2 separate regions of the Homo sapiens genome follow, and region 2 is linked to region 1. The links are contacts of gene promoters, found by promoter capture Hi-C in blood cells and fetal thymus (Javierre and others, 2016). All regions are on one chromosome and are shown on one strand. Each heading gives the region's core, a stretch centred on a gene start or on the middle of the fragment in contact. The rest is flanking DNA. Distances are from core to core; before and after follow the strand shown. Region 1 holds the start of CSE1L (chromosome segregation 1 like). Region 2 overlaps PREX1 (phosphatidylinositol-3,4,5-trisphosphate dependent Rac exchange factor 1).

The links. Contacts are between HindIII fragments. The CHiCAGO score rates a contact against its expected background, and 5 or more counts as called.
Region 2: a fragment that was not itself captured here is called in contact with the fragment with the promoter of CSE1L in region 1 in 1 of 17 cell types (monocytes); the score reaches 5.3 in monocytes.

What each region holds. Positions count from the first base shown.
Region 1 is chr20:49,042,620-49,050,244 of GRCh38, reverse strand. CSE1L (chromosome segregation 1 like) reads right to left here and starts at 3,933. Exons shown (of 25, transcript NM_001316.4): 1 at 3,822-3,933. It overlaps CSE1L-DT (CSE1L divergent transcript), which reads left to right and starts at 4,189. Exons shown (of 2, transcript NR_110625.1): 1 at 4,189-4,385. RefSeq lists enhancers at 2,935-3,575, 3,541-3,610, 4,161-4,310. The HindIII fragment of the contact is 3,278 bases long and covers 1,265-4,542 here.
Region 2 is chr20:48,681,910-48,689,534 of GRCh38, reverse strand. It overlaps PREX1 (phosphatidylinositol-3,4,5-trisphosphate dependent Rac exchange factor 1), which reads left to right. Exons shown (of 40, transcript NM_020820.4): 10 at 731-878. Among named protein-coding and RNA genes, the nearest start is that of PREX1, 140 kb to the left of the region's middle. RefSeq lists an enhancer at 5,757-6,506. The HindIII fragment of the contact is 3,081 bases long and covers 1,873-4,953 here.

The DNA of each region.
Region 1 (7,625 bases), core at 2,684-5,183:
CCTGTCTCCAAAAATAAAATAAAATAAAATAAAATAAAATAAAAATAAATAAATAAAACCACATAATAGAATGAAACCTAAAATGATTAAGTTGAGATGCTAGGGTAGGACTATTTTTAAGTTTAAAAAAAAGTGAGGGGTTATATAAATATGCATGTTATAATCCCTCAAAGTTAAAATACTACATAGATCCCAGAATCTTAATACTCTTTTTTGAGACAGGGTCTGGGTCTGTTACCTAGGCTGGAGAAATGCAGTGGTGTAATTCTGGCCCACTGAAACCTCTGCCTCCTGGGCTCAAGCCATCCTCCTACTTCAACCTCCCAAGTAGCTGGGACTACAGGCACACACCACCACACCTGGCTAATTTTTGTGTTGTTTCTGTAGACATGGTTCCAGTGTTGCCCAGGCTGGTCTGGAACTCCTGAGCTCAAGTGATCCGCCCACCTTGGCCTTCCAAAGTTTATTCTTTGGGAATATTCTTTAAGGAACTATTTGTCAACAAATCCTTTTTATATCGCCTTGCAGATATAGTCTATAAAACCGAATTCTAAGCTTATCCTTAATTTGAGAAAATAAGAGAAATCAGGGACTTTTAGAGAACATTTTACAGGTATTCATAATTATCAACAAGATCAAGCTCTAATTATCTTATGCAACCACAAGTAAAGGTACTTTGACACTCTGAAATATTAGCAATATATAAATGCAAAAAGTGTTACTGATCTAAAAATGACTCAAACTAGAAACAAAACATTCATTTTGGCCAAGTAGGGTGGCTCATGCCTGTAATCCCAGCTCTTTGGGGGGCCAAGGTAAGCAGATTGGTTGAGTCCAGGAGTTTGAGACCAACCTGGGCAACATGGTGCCATCTCTACAAAAAAAAAATAAAAATTAGTTGAGTGTGGTGGTGCACGCCTGTAGTCCTAGCTACTCGGGAGGCTGAGGTAGGAGGATAGACTGAGCCCAGGTCAGCCCAGGCAACACAGTGAGATGGTGTCTCCAAAAAAAAAAGGGAGGGAGAAGATAAGAATTCATTTTTATCACCTTTAAATGAGGGGGTGATACTTTTCTTTCTCCACGTAACTATCTTTGGAAATCTCTACCAATACACAATTAAGAAACTTAAAAAAGCATCACAATAAATCAGTTATGGCAGACATCTAAATTTCCAAGTTCTTCTTGTTGAATGAATGGCCAGACCTAAGTCTAGCATCTTCCCACAGGCCCTCAATTACAGGTGGAGATTTCTGGAATAAAAGCTTTGTTTTCCAAAGCCATCTCACAGACATCTGTGACATAAGCTGATCCAAGATGTCTGCCTTTTTCTTAGATATGTCCTCAACACATTAGAGAACCATTCCCGAGGCCTTACATTTGGGAAGAGGGAAAGAGATCCAATGAATGAAAACTATCTGGCACCCACACATGAAGAACATATCCCAACACCTCAACCTACCCTCTGCTTTCTAACCATAGGAATATACCACTTAGAATCAAATCCAAACTCCTTACATTGCCTACAAAGCCTTCTATGATCCGGGTCCTGGATATTTCTCCCTTCTTCATGTAACACTCTAGGAACCTAAGATATTCCTTAAATATTTCAATATTCCAAGCCGGTTCCTGTCCTTGAGCCTTGAGCCTTCTATTCCCTCTACCTGGAATGTTCTGCCCCTCACCTTTTAATGGCTGGTCTCTACCCAAATGTCACCTCCTCAGAAAAGCCTTCTTCACCTGTCACATAATTCTGTCACTATCTGAAATTATCTAATGTTTTTTCTTTCGCCCACGAGAATACATGGTCCTCAAGGGAAGGGACCTTGTCCATTTTTGTTTTTTCACTATATTCCCAGAGATTAAGTGGATGCTCAATAAAGTTATTAAATGAATAAAGAAACAAATTAATTCCAAAACTAGAGCACTGCTCTTGCATCCATCCAATCCTGTCCCAGACCCCAACCAGCAGAAGTAATCAGAAGGGGAGAGAGACTTCCCTTGCACTGATGGTAAGAAGTGAAAGATAAAGGGTTGTAGGAGCGGAGAGACGAGGTCCATTAGGATCCTCTGAAAGCATGTCAAAAAAAAAAAAAAAAAAGAGAGAGACACACACAGAGAAAGGCCAAAGATATGACTATGTGGGCCCAAGGTGAGAAAAAGAGCAATTGGTGGAATCCAAGACTAAAGGGTCCCCTTCTGTGCCTCCAAGGAAGAATAATACTTGTGCATCTACCATGTGGCAAGCACAGGTGGGATGGCACCCACCAGGGAGAGAGAAGTAAGCAAGACAGACAAGGTCCTTGCTCTCAAACAGCTTACATTCTAGCAGTTGAGAAAGATAACAAGTAAGCAATAAGTAAGTGTTAGTAAATGCTATGAAGTAACTAAAACCAGGTGATGTTGATGGAGAGCCATGGGAGAAAGGTCCTAGACAGGTTGATTAGACAGCCTGATCAACATGGTGAAACCCCGTCTCTAATAAAAATACAAAAATTAGCCGGGTGTGGTGGCGTGTAGTCTCAGACCTGTAGTCTCAGCTATTCGGGAGGCTGAGGCAGGAGAATCGCTTGAATCCGGGAGGCGGAGGTTGCAGTGAGTCGAGATCGCGCCACTGCACTCCAGCCTGGGAGGCAGAGCGAGACTCTCTCTCTCAAAAAAAAAAAAAAAAAAAAAAAAAAAAGAAAAGAGAAAAGAAAAAGAAAAAGAAAACAAAAGAAGAGGTTGGTTAGGGGAGGCCTAAGGTGAGGGAAACTTGGGAGAGGCGGCCTGCCTTGCAAAAATGTTGGTACTTCCCCAGCAAACAAAAGGCATGTGCAAATAATTTTAAATCGGAATAACCCTGGAATATGGAAGAAACAGAAAGCCACACTGGCTAAGGAGAAAGATGGGTGGGAGAGATGAATAAACAACCGTCAGCTCCCAGGGAACCTTTGTAAACCACGGTAAATAACTCAGCGCATCCTCAAAGCCACTTTCCGAGGTAGATTCTGTTATTAACCCCATTTTGCAGCTAAGGAAATGGAGGCTCAGTGAGATGAGGTGACCAGCCTCAAGTTACACCCCTAACGAGAGGCTACGTCTGGAATGAACCCAGGCGATCTAATTCCAAAGTCTATGCTCCGAACCACCACAGCACAGCGTTTCTCCCAAAACGAGGGAACCCTCCCCCAACCCGCGTTACAGGGGATTTCTATGTCCCGGGTGTACCGACTAGAATTCTCACAAACAATTCAGCAAAGTGAGATCACGATGCCCGTTTTACAGTCAGGGATACAAGTACAGAGGTTAGAGAAGGGTGAGTTCGGGGGCTTCACTAGAGTTAGGGCAAGGGACGACGCGAGGCAGCCGCAGCTCCACGCGCCCGCAGTCCCCGCCCGGGCAGGCCTCGCCGCCGCACACTCAGCTCGCGCGGCTAGCAGCCACCGTCGCAGAGAATGGACATGCGAGCGCGACCAATAAGGAGCGGCCTTCCCGAGCGGAGAGGCGGCGGCGCAGCCAATCAGCGCCGTGATGGAGAGGAAAGGGCGGGCAATCCGCAGGCTCGCGTTAGGCCGCGCCTCAGTTGCCCTCAGCCCTCACAGGCCCTGGGGTCGCCGCACCTGGGCCAGAGACCTAGGATGCCGCGAGGCGCGGCAAGCGCTCCCTAGGGAAGCCGAAGACCTTGCCTGAGCGCACCACCCGAACCCCGGGCCCACATTCCGCTCTCGCCCAGAGGCGCGGTTCTCACTCCCTAGCGCTCGTTAGTACCGGGAGCGCCTCATCCCTTCCTCAGCTGGGCCCCAAGAGCCACTCTGGTAGGCCGTGCACGCCCCGCGCCTCACCTCGTGGGGATACAGAAACGGAGGAGGGAACCCCAGCCGCGGACCGTAGCTGGCACTACCCGCTCCTGCCGCCGCTCCGCCTCACATTCAAACCCCGGCAAAATGGCGCGACAGCGAGCCTGAGGCCAGAGCGCATGAGCGAGCGGCCCGCTGCAGGGGGCGGGGCCAGGAATGCTCTGGCCCCACCCAAGTTCGAAGGGCCAATCGGGGCCCCGCTCTGTTTCTGCGCTGATCTCACAAGTGACAATGCTCTTTGGCTCTGACCATGCCAGCAGGCTTCACGGTTCTCGTTTTCCAAAGAGGAACACAGATTCAGCGAGCGGCTGCTGGCTTCTGACCCATTTTGATGTCAGGGCTTGGCACGTAGGAGGTGTTCAATGTTGATCGATCCAAGGTCGTGCACATAGGGTCTAAGACGGAAGAGAACTTCCTGCCCCTCTTGGAGCTTCTATTTTAGAGGGAGACACGGCCAGACAGGTCTCGAACTCCTGGCCTCAAGTGATCCGCACACCTTGGCCTCCCAAAATGCTGGGATTCCAGGCGTGAGCCACCGCGCCTGGCCTGGTATGTAAGTTTTGGTACTCTTATTACAGCCCACAAACCATATGGGATCTGGCCCCTGCCAGCCTGCCTGCCCTCATCACCTTCCGCTTCCCTCCTCTCCTCACCCTCACTCAGCTCCGCCACCCCACCTTCTTCCTGTTCCTCTAAGCTCCAAGCTTATTTCCACTTTAGAGCATTTATACTTGCTGTTCCCTGTGCTGGGATGTTCTAGATTCCTGAATGATTGGCTCCTTCTTTACATTTAGGTTCCAGCTCAAATGTCACCTCCACAAAAGAGGCCTATCTGAAATTGCCCACTCACCACCACCCAGCACACAAATTAGGGTTGCCAGGTTTAGCAAATAAAATGCAGGCTGCCCAGGTCAATGTAAATTTTAGAAAAAAATTTATAATTTTCTAGTATAAATACTGTGTAGGACATATTTATACTTAAAAATCATGCATTGCTTATCTGAAATTCACATTGAACTGGGTGCCCAGTGTTTGATCTGGTAAGCCTAGTTCCATGATATCATTATGGTATTTATCACTCTCCAACTAATTGTCTCTTCTTTATTTTGTTCCTCCTTCCGCTTCTCCCCTCCTAAACCCCTGCCCTCCTCCCCATCCATAACCTAAGGGATTCTATACAGCAAGGGCTTTTCTTTTTTTTTTTTTTTTTTAAAGACAGAGTCTTGCTCTGTCGCCCAGGCTGGAGGGCTGGAGTGCAGTGGTGCTGTCACAGCTCACTGCAACCTCTGCCTCCCAGGTTCAAGCAATTTTCCTGACTCAGCCCCCCAAGTTACTGGGACTACAGGTGCCCGCCACCATGCCCCGCTGATTTTTGTATTTTTAGTAGACACGGGGTTTCACCATATTGGCCAGGCTGATCTTGAACTCCTGACCTTGTGATCCGCCAGCCTTGGCCTCCCAAAGTGCTGGGATTACAGGCATGAGCCACCACGCCTGGCCAGGGCTTTTTTTTTTTTTTTTTTTTTCTTTTAAGAGGCAGGGTCTTGCTCTGTCACCCAGGCTGCAGTGCAATGGCACAATCATAGCTCATTGCAACCTCGACCTCCTAGGCTAAAGCAATCCTCCCACCTCAGCCTCCTGAGTAGCTAGGACTACAGGCACCTGCCACCACACCTGGCTAATTTTGAATTTTTTTGTAGAGATGAGCTCTCACTATGTTGCCCAGGCAAACTCCTGGCCTCAAGTGATCCTCCCACCTCCGCCTCCTAAAGCACTGGGATAGGGCTGGGCATGGTGGCTCACGCCGGTAATCCCAGTGATTTGGGAGACCGAGGCAGGCAGATCACCTGAGATTGGGAGTTTGAGACCTGACCAACATGGAGAAACCCCGTCTCTACTAAAAATACAAAATTAGCCGGGTGTGGTGGCGCACGTCTGCAATCCCAGCTACTTGGGAGGCTGAGGCAGGAGAGTCGTTTGAACCCGGGAGGCAGAGGTTGCGGTGAGCTGAGATCTTGCCATTGCACTCCAGCCTGGGCAACAAGAGCGAAACTCCATCTCAAAAAAAAAAAAAGCCCCGGGATTACAGGTGTGAGCCACCACATCTAGCCCCATATTGATGGTATTCACAGCTGTACCCCCAGCACTAGGCACACAGTAGCTGCTTAATAAATGTTTGTTGCATGTTGAATGAAATGCCATATATAAATAAGTGAAGTCCATGGAGAAAGATACATGAGTGAAAGACATTGGTGAGGCCGGGCACGGTGGCTCATGCCTGTAATCCCAGCACTTTGGAAGGCTGAGGCAGGCGGATCATGAGGTCAGGAGATCGAGACCATCCTGGCCAACATGGTAAAACCCTGTCTCTACAAAAATACAAAAATTAGCCAGATGTGGTGGCATGCGCCTGTAGTCCCAGCTACTCAGGAGGCTGAGGCAGGAGAATCGCTTGAACCTGGGAGGCAGAGGCTGCAGTGAGCCGAGATCGAGCCACTGCACTCCAGCCTGGGTGACAGCGAGACTGTGTCTTAAAAAAATAAATAAATAAATAAAATAAAAATAAAAATAAACCATGATGGTCAGAAGACGGTGGAACATTTTAAAAAAAAACAAAGACATTGGTGAAAAAGATGTATTTTTACTATTGCAGCAATAGTACCAGTAATCACCAGTAATCATTTTAATCGTTCTAATCTGCATTTTTTTTTTTTTTTGAGACGGAGTCTCACACTGTTGCCCAAGCTGGAGTGCAGTGGTGCGATCTCGGCTCACTGCAAACTCCACCTCCTGGGTTCACGCCATTTTCCTGCCTCAGCCTCCCGAGCAGCTGGGACTACAGGCGCCCGCCACCATGCCCAGCTAATTTTTTGTATTCTTAGTAGAGACAGGGTTTCACCGTGTTAGCCAGGATGGTCTTGATCTCCTGACCTCATGATCCGCCCGCCTCGGCCTCCCAAAGTGCTGGGATTACAAGCGTGAGCCACCACACCCGGCCCACTAATCTACTTTAATATAATTAACATGTTCCTCTAGTCCTAGGGAGAATGAGCCTGATGACTTTACCATTTTCCACCTCTAAGAGCCAATCGCAAAGGAGGCTGGCTGGCATCTTGTGTCTGTCTAGCATCTCTACCAGTTTCTGTAGAAAACCCTCAAGCTGTGCCAAGACGATCATGTCTGGACACAGCTCTTGGTGTCACGGGGTGTCTCCTCCTACTGCCTATCGCCCTTTGCAGCCACCAGAATAATCATGCAGGTGAGAGCCACAGAAAGGCTGAGTGTCCTTCTCCACTCTGCATGGTTCATGGGTGACAGCTAAAGATTCCCTTGGGAATCCTCCCCATCCCAGCTCCACTACATGCACATACTCTTGGGGCGTGCTACAACTCTTAACAGACTGTGTTGGAAACCAAAGAAAACAATTCATCCACTTCAAGGAGCAGGAGACTAAGTACTCATTCATGTAGTTTCCTTTCTTTCTAAACCCTTATAAAACAATCTGTCTAGGTTGGGCATGGTGGCTCACGCCTGTAATCCCAACACTTTGGGAGGACAGGATGGGTCACCCGAGGTCAGGAGTTCGAGACCAGTCTGGCCAACATTGTGAAACCCCATCTCTACTAAAAATACAAAAATTAGCCGGGTGTGGTGGTGGGTGCCTGTAATCCCAGCTACTTGGGAGGCTGAGGCAGGAGAATCACTTGAACCTGGGAGGTAGAGGTTGCAGTGAGCTGAGGTCGCACCACTGCACTCCAGCCTGGGCGACAAAGCAAGATTCTGTCCCCC
Region 2 (7,625 bases), core at 2,164-4,663, 360 kb after region 1:
GTCCACATCCTGACCTCAGGGCTGGGGTGGTCACGAGCACGAATATGGAACCAACTTCCTGGGTCTAAATTCTGGTTTCACCACTTCCAATTGGGCAACCTTGGGCAGAGAACCGAACTTCTCTGGACCTCAGTTTCTTTATCTGTAAAACGGGGATAATTATGGCACCTTATTATTGCGGGTTTCTCATGTGGCGTACTGGCATGTAGTAGGTGCTATAAAAGCATTTGCTGTTGTCAAAATTAGATGGGGGTCAAAACAGAAAAATGTGGGCAGAGATTAGGGTCAGGTCCTATGAGTGTTGGCTGGAAGAACGACCAGACTTTTATCACTGGGCTGGAATGGAGATACTGACAAGTTTTCTGATAACCTGTGAATCTAGAAACCCACCCTCAGGTTGGGGAGGCAGCATAGGAAAGTGATGAAGAACATAGCACTAGAGCTTGATTCCTGGGTTGAAGGCATGACCCCCTGTCATCCCAGGACTTAACCTCTCTGGGTCTCAACTTTGCCATCTGTAAAATGGTTGTTTTGAGGTGTCATTGGCAGGTGCCTAGGGCAGCGACAGTCAGTGCCCTCTAGCTGCTGCTGGCGTGGTGGTGGTGGAGGGCAGGTGGTGGGGCAGGTGGCAGGCCAGCTTTCAGGAGCTGTGGGCCTGCCCCTTGTCTCCCCCTACCCCCCCTGCCCTGGGCCTGGTGCTCTCTCCAGTGCTGACCGTGCCCCTGTGTAGGCCTGAAGCTGGGCATGGAGCGTGATGCCTACGTCATGATTGCGGAGAAGGGGGAGAAGCTGTACCACATGATGATGAACAAGAAGGTGAACCTCATCAAGGACCGCCGGAGAAAGCTGAGCACTGTCCCCAAGTGCTTTCTTGGCAAGTGAGTAGCCTCACTCTGAACTCCCTGGGTCCCTGGGCTCTCAGCTGGAGGTGGGGCAGATCATCCCCATCCACCCATGCAGCCTGGCCCTGCCCAGGAGCCATCCTGGGCAGAGTGACAAAAGGACCTGAATCCTTATGGAGCAGCCCTCAGAGATCAAGAAGGCTAGTGGGGTCCCTAAATCAGGTCTTTCAACCTACTACCAGACATAATTTTCCATTGTGACCTGGTACACCCATTCATGTAATATATGATTGAAGCTGAGGTTTCACAGAGCTTACTGTGCTTGATCCCACTCTGAAAATATCTGTTTCTGTTCTCTTCTGTTCTTTCTATTCTATTCAAGTTGCTTCTTCATTCATTTCAAAATTAATGCTGGCAAGACCCATGACATTGTTTCACAAAGCACTAACGGTTTGAAAAATGCTGCTGTAGCACTTGGGAAAAGAGAAGCCACTCTAGGCATTTCAAGCAGAGAGGTATTGAACACAGGTAATTGATTACAAAGGTGTTTTAAGGGCTGGAAGAATAAAGGTAGGCCCCCCACCCCCACCCCATTTTTTTTTTGGCTGGGGCTGCCATAACAAAGTGCACAAAACTGGTGTGGCTTAAACAACAGAAATGTATTGCTTCACAGTTCTGGAGGCTGGCAGTCCTAGGTCAGGGTGTTGGCAGGGAGAGTATCTGGTGAGGCGTCTCTTCCTGAGTTACATGTGAGGGGCGAGGGAAGCTTCTATAAACTTCTCAGTGCCCAGAGCCTCCACTTTCTCTGTTTGGGAAATACAGCCCCATTTTATAACTGGAGTTCAAAGGGGTCAGAACACAGGTGTGACAGGCTGGCTCTTACACGCAGGTCACCTGAGGGAGAGGGCTGGGGCACGGGAGAGGTAGAAGAAATCCAGTCCTTGTAAAATGGTCAGGCTGTTTTAAGGCCCTACAATGTGCTAGACACTCCGGAGAGGACAGTGCCAAGGGCTTGCAACCTCATGAAGCTTGTGGTGCAGCTGGGGAGAGAGGTTTGCCGGCAATGCGGGAACTTTATTTAGAATGTAAGGACTTAAACTCCCCCCAACTTCCCTAAAGCCTTTGCAGAGGCCTAGGGTAAAAGCTGCCACTTTATCACAGTGCTGTGGACCAGGTGAGAGGTTGTGTGGGCCAGGCTTGAGCCAGGATGGTCATTGTGGAGACAGGGAGCAGTGGCTGTGTTCTGGATAACTTGAAAGGCAACAGCATTTGCTGATGGGGTGGAAAAGTAAAGGGAGTTCAGGACTTTAAGGCGCTGGAAAGCTGCAGTTGCTCCTTTGAGAAGGAGAAGAAGATGGCGGGAGGAGCAGGCTGCAGGGGGCCGTGGGAAGCCCACGAGTGCAGTTGTGGACGGGTTATGTCAGGCTGGTAGACACCCACATGGAGATGTGGGCTTGTTGGTTGGTTGCAAAATCTTGACTTGGGGAGAAAGGTCTGCATTGGGGACCTACACATGGGAGATGGTGTTAAATGGTCTTTAAAGCCATGAGACGGCCTGAACTGTGCAGGGGAACCTGAAGGGATAGAAGAGGCAGGCCTGGGCCCTGGGGCCCGATGATGGCATTGGAAGGAGGAGGGGGCAGAGACCTCTGAGTGGAGCTGCTGGCGAGAAGGTGGCACTCCTCCGGAAGCCAAGGGGAGGAAGAGGCGGGGAGGCAGGAGCAGGTCCCTGGGAAGGAGCAGGAGCCCGGTGGAGGCTGAAATGCTGATAGACATTCAGGGTGCAGTATGGATGTTGGGCAGGCCACGGAGGCTTAGTGTGGACTTGGGGACAGCTGGCACTCATGGCCTGAGGCTTGTGGTGGAGGGGCAGCAAGTAGAAGGGTTCAAACCTGCAGGGCGCCATGGACTCTATTGCCCTGTTGCCCTCAAGGGCCTTGGTGCCCTATTTTCCTCAAAGATCAGGAACTCCAGCTCTGAGCTTCCATGGAGAGGAGAGTTTGGGCCTTGGAGTCCTGCTGGCTGGGGCAGGCGGGGCGGGGCAGCCTGGCTGGCCTTTTCAGCCAACTCCTAATCCCACAGGAAAGGAGGTTTTTCTCTCAGGAGGGGCCTGCTTCCGGGCCCCCTGGGGCCAGAGAACCTTCCCATCTCCTGCCAAACTGCTCAGTCCGGACCGATGAGGCAGCCTGTCTGTGATCAGAACTTCGAGGAGTTCTGCCTCCTCAGGAAGGATTAGAGAGATTTCTTTTACTGCCCATTTGAAATGGGGCCAAGATAGCAGCTTGTTTTGTAACTGCAGGTCCGAAAGGGCCAGCCTTTCTGCAGGAGATTATTCTGATAAACTCTTCTCCCTGCACGGCTTTGCTCTGCACACAGCCGTAGGGTGTGTGATCCTGCTACCCCCGCCAGGGTCCCGCTACTGAATCTTCTTGTCCAAGATGCGTCCCTGGTCCTCCAGGGTAGAAGGACTTGGTAGCCTCCGAGATATTGATCAAGCCCTTTGCTGCATGTGCTGGCATTCAGCCATGTCTTTTAATCCCCACACAACACCGTGAAACAGTCACTGCCACTACCCCCATTTTAAAAGTGAGGAAACCGAGGCACAGAGAGGGGAAGGGTTCTGTACAAGATCACAAAGCGACACTGGTGCTGTCTCCCACTGTACTTTGCCTGTCTATTCATTTTTATTTCTACTCAGCACATTTTATTTTTCCCTAGCAGTTCCTCTCTCTACATCTGTCTCCACTGTTAGGGAACTGCATGAATATAAAAAGTGTCTGATTTATCTTTTGGTTTTTAGAGACAGGGTCTCGCTCTGTTGCCCAGGCTGGAGTACAGTGGTGTGATCATAACTCACTGTAGCCTCAAACTCCTGGGCTCAAGCGATCTTCCTGCCTCCTGAGTAGCTGAGACTACAGGTGTGTGCCACTGTGCTAGGCTTCTATAGCTAATTTTTATTTTTTTTTGTACAGATGGGGGTCTTGCAAATGCTCTCGCCTTGGCTTCCCAAGGTGCTGGGATTACAGGCGTGAGCCACTGCACCTGGCCTGATTTGTCTTTATCACCCCCAAGGGTTGGCTTTGAGTTAGACTTGGACTCAAGTCTTGGTTCCCTCACTTTCTAGCTGTGTGACATTGGGGAAGTTTCTTAACCTCTCTGAACCTCAGTGAACGATCAGTTAAAGGGAGATAATAAAATGTGCCTCTGAGGACTGTCGGAGGATACAGTGAGAGAACACGTGACGTGTGCAGCACAGTGCTGGTGAGACTCGTGGGAATCGTACTGGCTGTGCATGATGAGTGTATGAAGGAGGGGCCTCTTTCTGCCCTACTCAGAGAAAAATCTCTTAGATGCCACATTTAAAAAGCAAAGAATAAAATCTGTGTGTATTAATGTGGAGGGTGTCCTGGGAGGAGCATGGCCTGTGCCCTCTGGCATCGTCAGATTAGTAGGGGAGACAAAACAGATTCACTCATTCATTCACCCACTCAGTGTTACCGAGTCCCTGCTATGTGCCAGTCGGGAATAGGACAGATGAAGTCCCTGCCCTCATAGAGGTAAGCATCCAGTGGGGGAAATCAGACAACAGAAGAGGAGACAGATAGAAAGAAGGGAATTTCAGCAACTTGATGAATGCGCTAAGGAAATACTTAGCGTGAAGTCAGGACAAGAGGAAATGGGGCTGGTTCAGAAGAGTGGGCAGTCAGGACCTCTCAGGGGAAGTGACATTTAACCACGATCTGAAAGACAAGCAAGAGCCAGCCATGAGAGGGTGTGGGGAACAGCATTCCTGGCTTAGGAAGCAGTAGGCGCGAAAGCCCTGAGGCTGCAGTGAGCTTTGAGTGATGGTGGAACAGGAGGAGGCCATTGTGGCTGGAGCCTGAGTGGTCAGAGGGGCAGGAGATGTGGCCTCAGCAGTTAAAGTGGGTCACCTCAGGCAGGGCCTTGGCAGGCAGCTCACATTTCCGTCTTGGTGCTGTGGGAAGCCACTGGAGGAGTCTCGGTAGTGGAGTGAGATGAGGATCCAGATCGAGGGCATTGGTGGAGCTGTCGGAGCTCAGGGTTACCAGGTATGACGCGGCGTGTCTGGCAGGGGCCGTCAGGAAAAGCTTCCTGGACGAAGGCCTTGGGTTTCACCCTTGGCAGAGATTAGATGCTGTTCAGTTATGGACGTCTGCCAGAGGGAAAGCTCCAAGGTGGAAGGGGCCTTGGTGTCTTGGCCACCTGTACGCACAGGTGCAGGGTGTTAGTGTGCACGAGAGGGTCGGTAAGGATTTGTCCAACATTGTCATCTCCAGGAGGCATCCCTGAGCCGTGGAGTCACAGGGATGGGTATTCCACTGGGTACCCCCCAGTCCCTACCCTCTTGGAGCCCACGGCCCATGGAGGAATCAGGCAAGAACAAGGGATTCTTGTGTTGGGTCATAAGTGGTACCTTGGGCCTGAGCTCAGGCGGCTTTCTTAGGAAGACTGCAGAATGTATTCCTTGTGCCTCACCCTGGCCGTGGCCCATTGTAGGCTAAATAGATGTTTAGTGGGTGAATGATTCTAGGAGGCGGGAAGGAAGGAGGGATGAAAGCTGACACATCCTAACTCTCAGCTCACCATGCCATCCCTGACTCTCAGACTGCCCATCAAGCTAGATTGCCTTCTCCTTGTATCTCCAGCTCTCCTCACACTGTCCTGAGCTGTGTCTTTCTGGGAGCTTGGACCTAGCTGCCCTTTGCATGCCAGCGCCCCTCCCCACTGGCAGATCGCTGGTTTCCTGACCTTACCTCTCAGGGCTTCTGTGTGCGCTGATCCCCTTGCCCAGAACACTCTCCCCTGTACCCCAGAGGTGGCTAGCAGTGCCCCACTGACCTGATAGAGTTAGCAGACATGTTTTCCTCGGCCCACGTAGTGCTTTCAGAAAATGTTGGACTCGATATGAACATTTAATGATGGGGAGATTTCACAGGAAATGCTGGATTTCCTCACTCTCCCGAGAAGCTGTTAGATGCGTTCGTCTTCTAACATAATGGGCCATGATGGGCTACACTGAAGAGTGGCTGCCAGCTTTAGACACGGCAGGCCCCGGCTGGTTCTGCACAGTCTCCTCCTGGCCTGTTTTGCCTATTTACAAGTTTGAGACCCCTGCACTAGAGATGAATTTTATTGGGTTTTTGCATACTGCATCCCAGCTCAGGATTTCATATGACTAGAAATTTTGCCTGCTAAATCCAGAAGGTGACTGAGTGAGCCACTTCCCAGGTGGGCCCTGATGAGGCCCAGAGAGGCACAGGGACCCGCCCAGCTTTGCCCAGCAAGCTGTGAACCCTCCTTGATCCACCAGAAGATGGCAAGACCCAGTTTGGGCAGAAACGTAGGGCAGAGTTGCTGTCCTCTGGGCCGTCTTCTTCTGCCCCAGCAGCTGCTGTGGGATACTTCCTGTCCCCTAACCCTGGCCAGAGAGTTGCTGATCAGTGCCAGAGGCGGCCCCCAATTAGACAGCTGGTGGGCTTCCGAGAGTGGGCACTCAAACATCTGTTCCCCTCCTTCAGCTGCTGGCAGCATTCTCCCTGTCCCTGAGTTCCAAGACTTTGAGAATGGAACTGGGGGTGGACAGGACCCAGAACAATCCCTTCCCCACCTGGGGCGCCTGTCCCACAAAGCAGATGCATTTCTTCTGCAGCCCACTCTGCCTCCAGCCAGGGCATTCTGAATGCTCCAGCACGCACCGCTACCTACACACCAGGCAGGTCTTTGCTCTGCCAAACACTAGGAAGCTAAAAATAGCCCTGCCCCCCTCTGGCCCTGTAATTGGAGGCGGGACAGCTGGTTTCGATAAGCAGGGTGCTCAGGCTCTGGCCAGCTGCCACCTGCTTTCATTGAACACAGATTGCCTCGGCGGAAACAGCCCCATTCCAGGCTCTCCCTTTTCCTGCTGAGTTTGAGTGGGTTGAGCTCTGGGCTGAGCCTGAGAAGCACCCGCAAGAACTAGGACCTGGGGCCCCGGCTGAGCCTCTCACCACCGGGCAGTCACGTGGGAGCTGGGAAAGCTGCCTGTCTTCCTCTGGCCTGGGAGCACTTCTGTCTCCCCGAGACCTTCCTGCCGACCTCAGAACATTCCTTTCTGTCGGATGGTTCATTACTTCATTTGTTCCATAAATGATCATTGAGCCCTGCTCTGCATCAGGCCCTCTGGTAGGTGCTGGGATAGTGCCATGAATAAGACAGAGAAAACACCCTGTTCATGTCATTACATTCTGGTTGGGGGAGATGGCCAATAAATACGTAAAATAAATCTGTAAACAAGACCACTTCAGACAGTGAAAAGTGCAAAAAAGGAAGCAACACAGAGATGTGATGGATTGGATAGGGGTCGGGGACCATTTTAAATGAGGTAGTCAGGGAAGGCTTCTCTGAGGAGGTGATGTTTGTGCTGAGACCTGAAGGATGAGAAGGCACAGTTGCATGAAGAGCTGAGGAAGGGCATTCCAGGCAGAAGGAACAGCAAGTGCAGCAGCCCCGAGGCAGGGAGGAGTCTGGTATTTTTTAATAAGGGAAAGGTGGTAGGTGTGGCTTAGGCATAACTAATGAGAGGTATTGGGGGTGAGATCAGTCAGGGTGGGAGTGGGTCATGCTGGGCCTTGTTTATGTCCGTGTGGGAAGAGTTGGGATTTTTTTTGTGAGTAGTAAGCCTGTGGGAGGGTTTTGAATATGGAAATGACATGGTTTCATCACTGTTAGCTCGCCTGACTCCCCGCCATCATCTTTCTGGCCCCCTATTATTTCTTCCTGCAT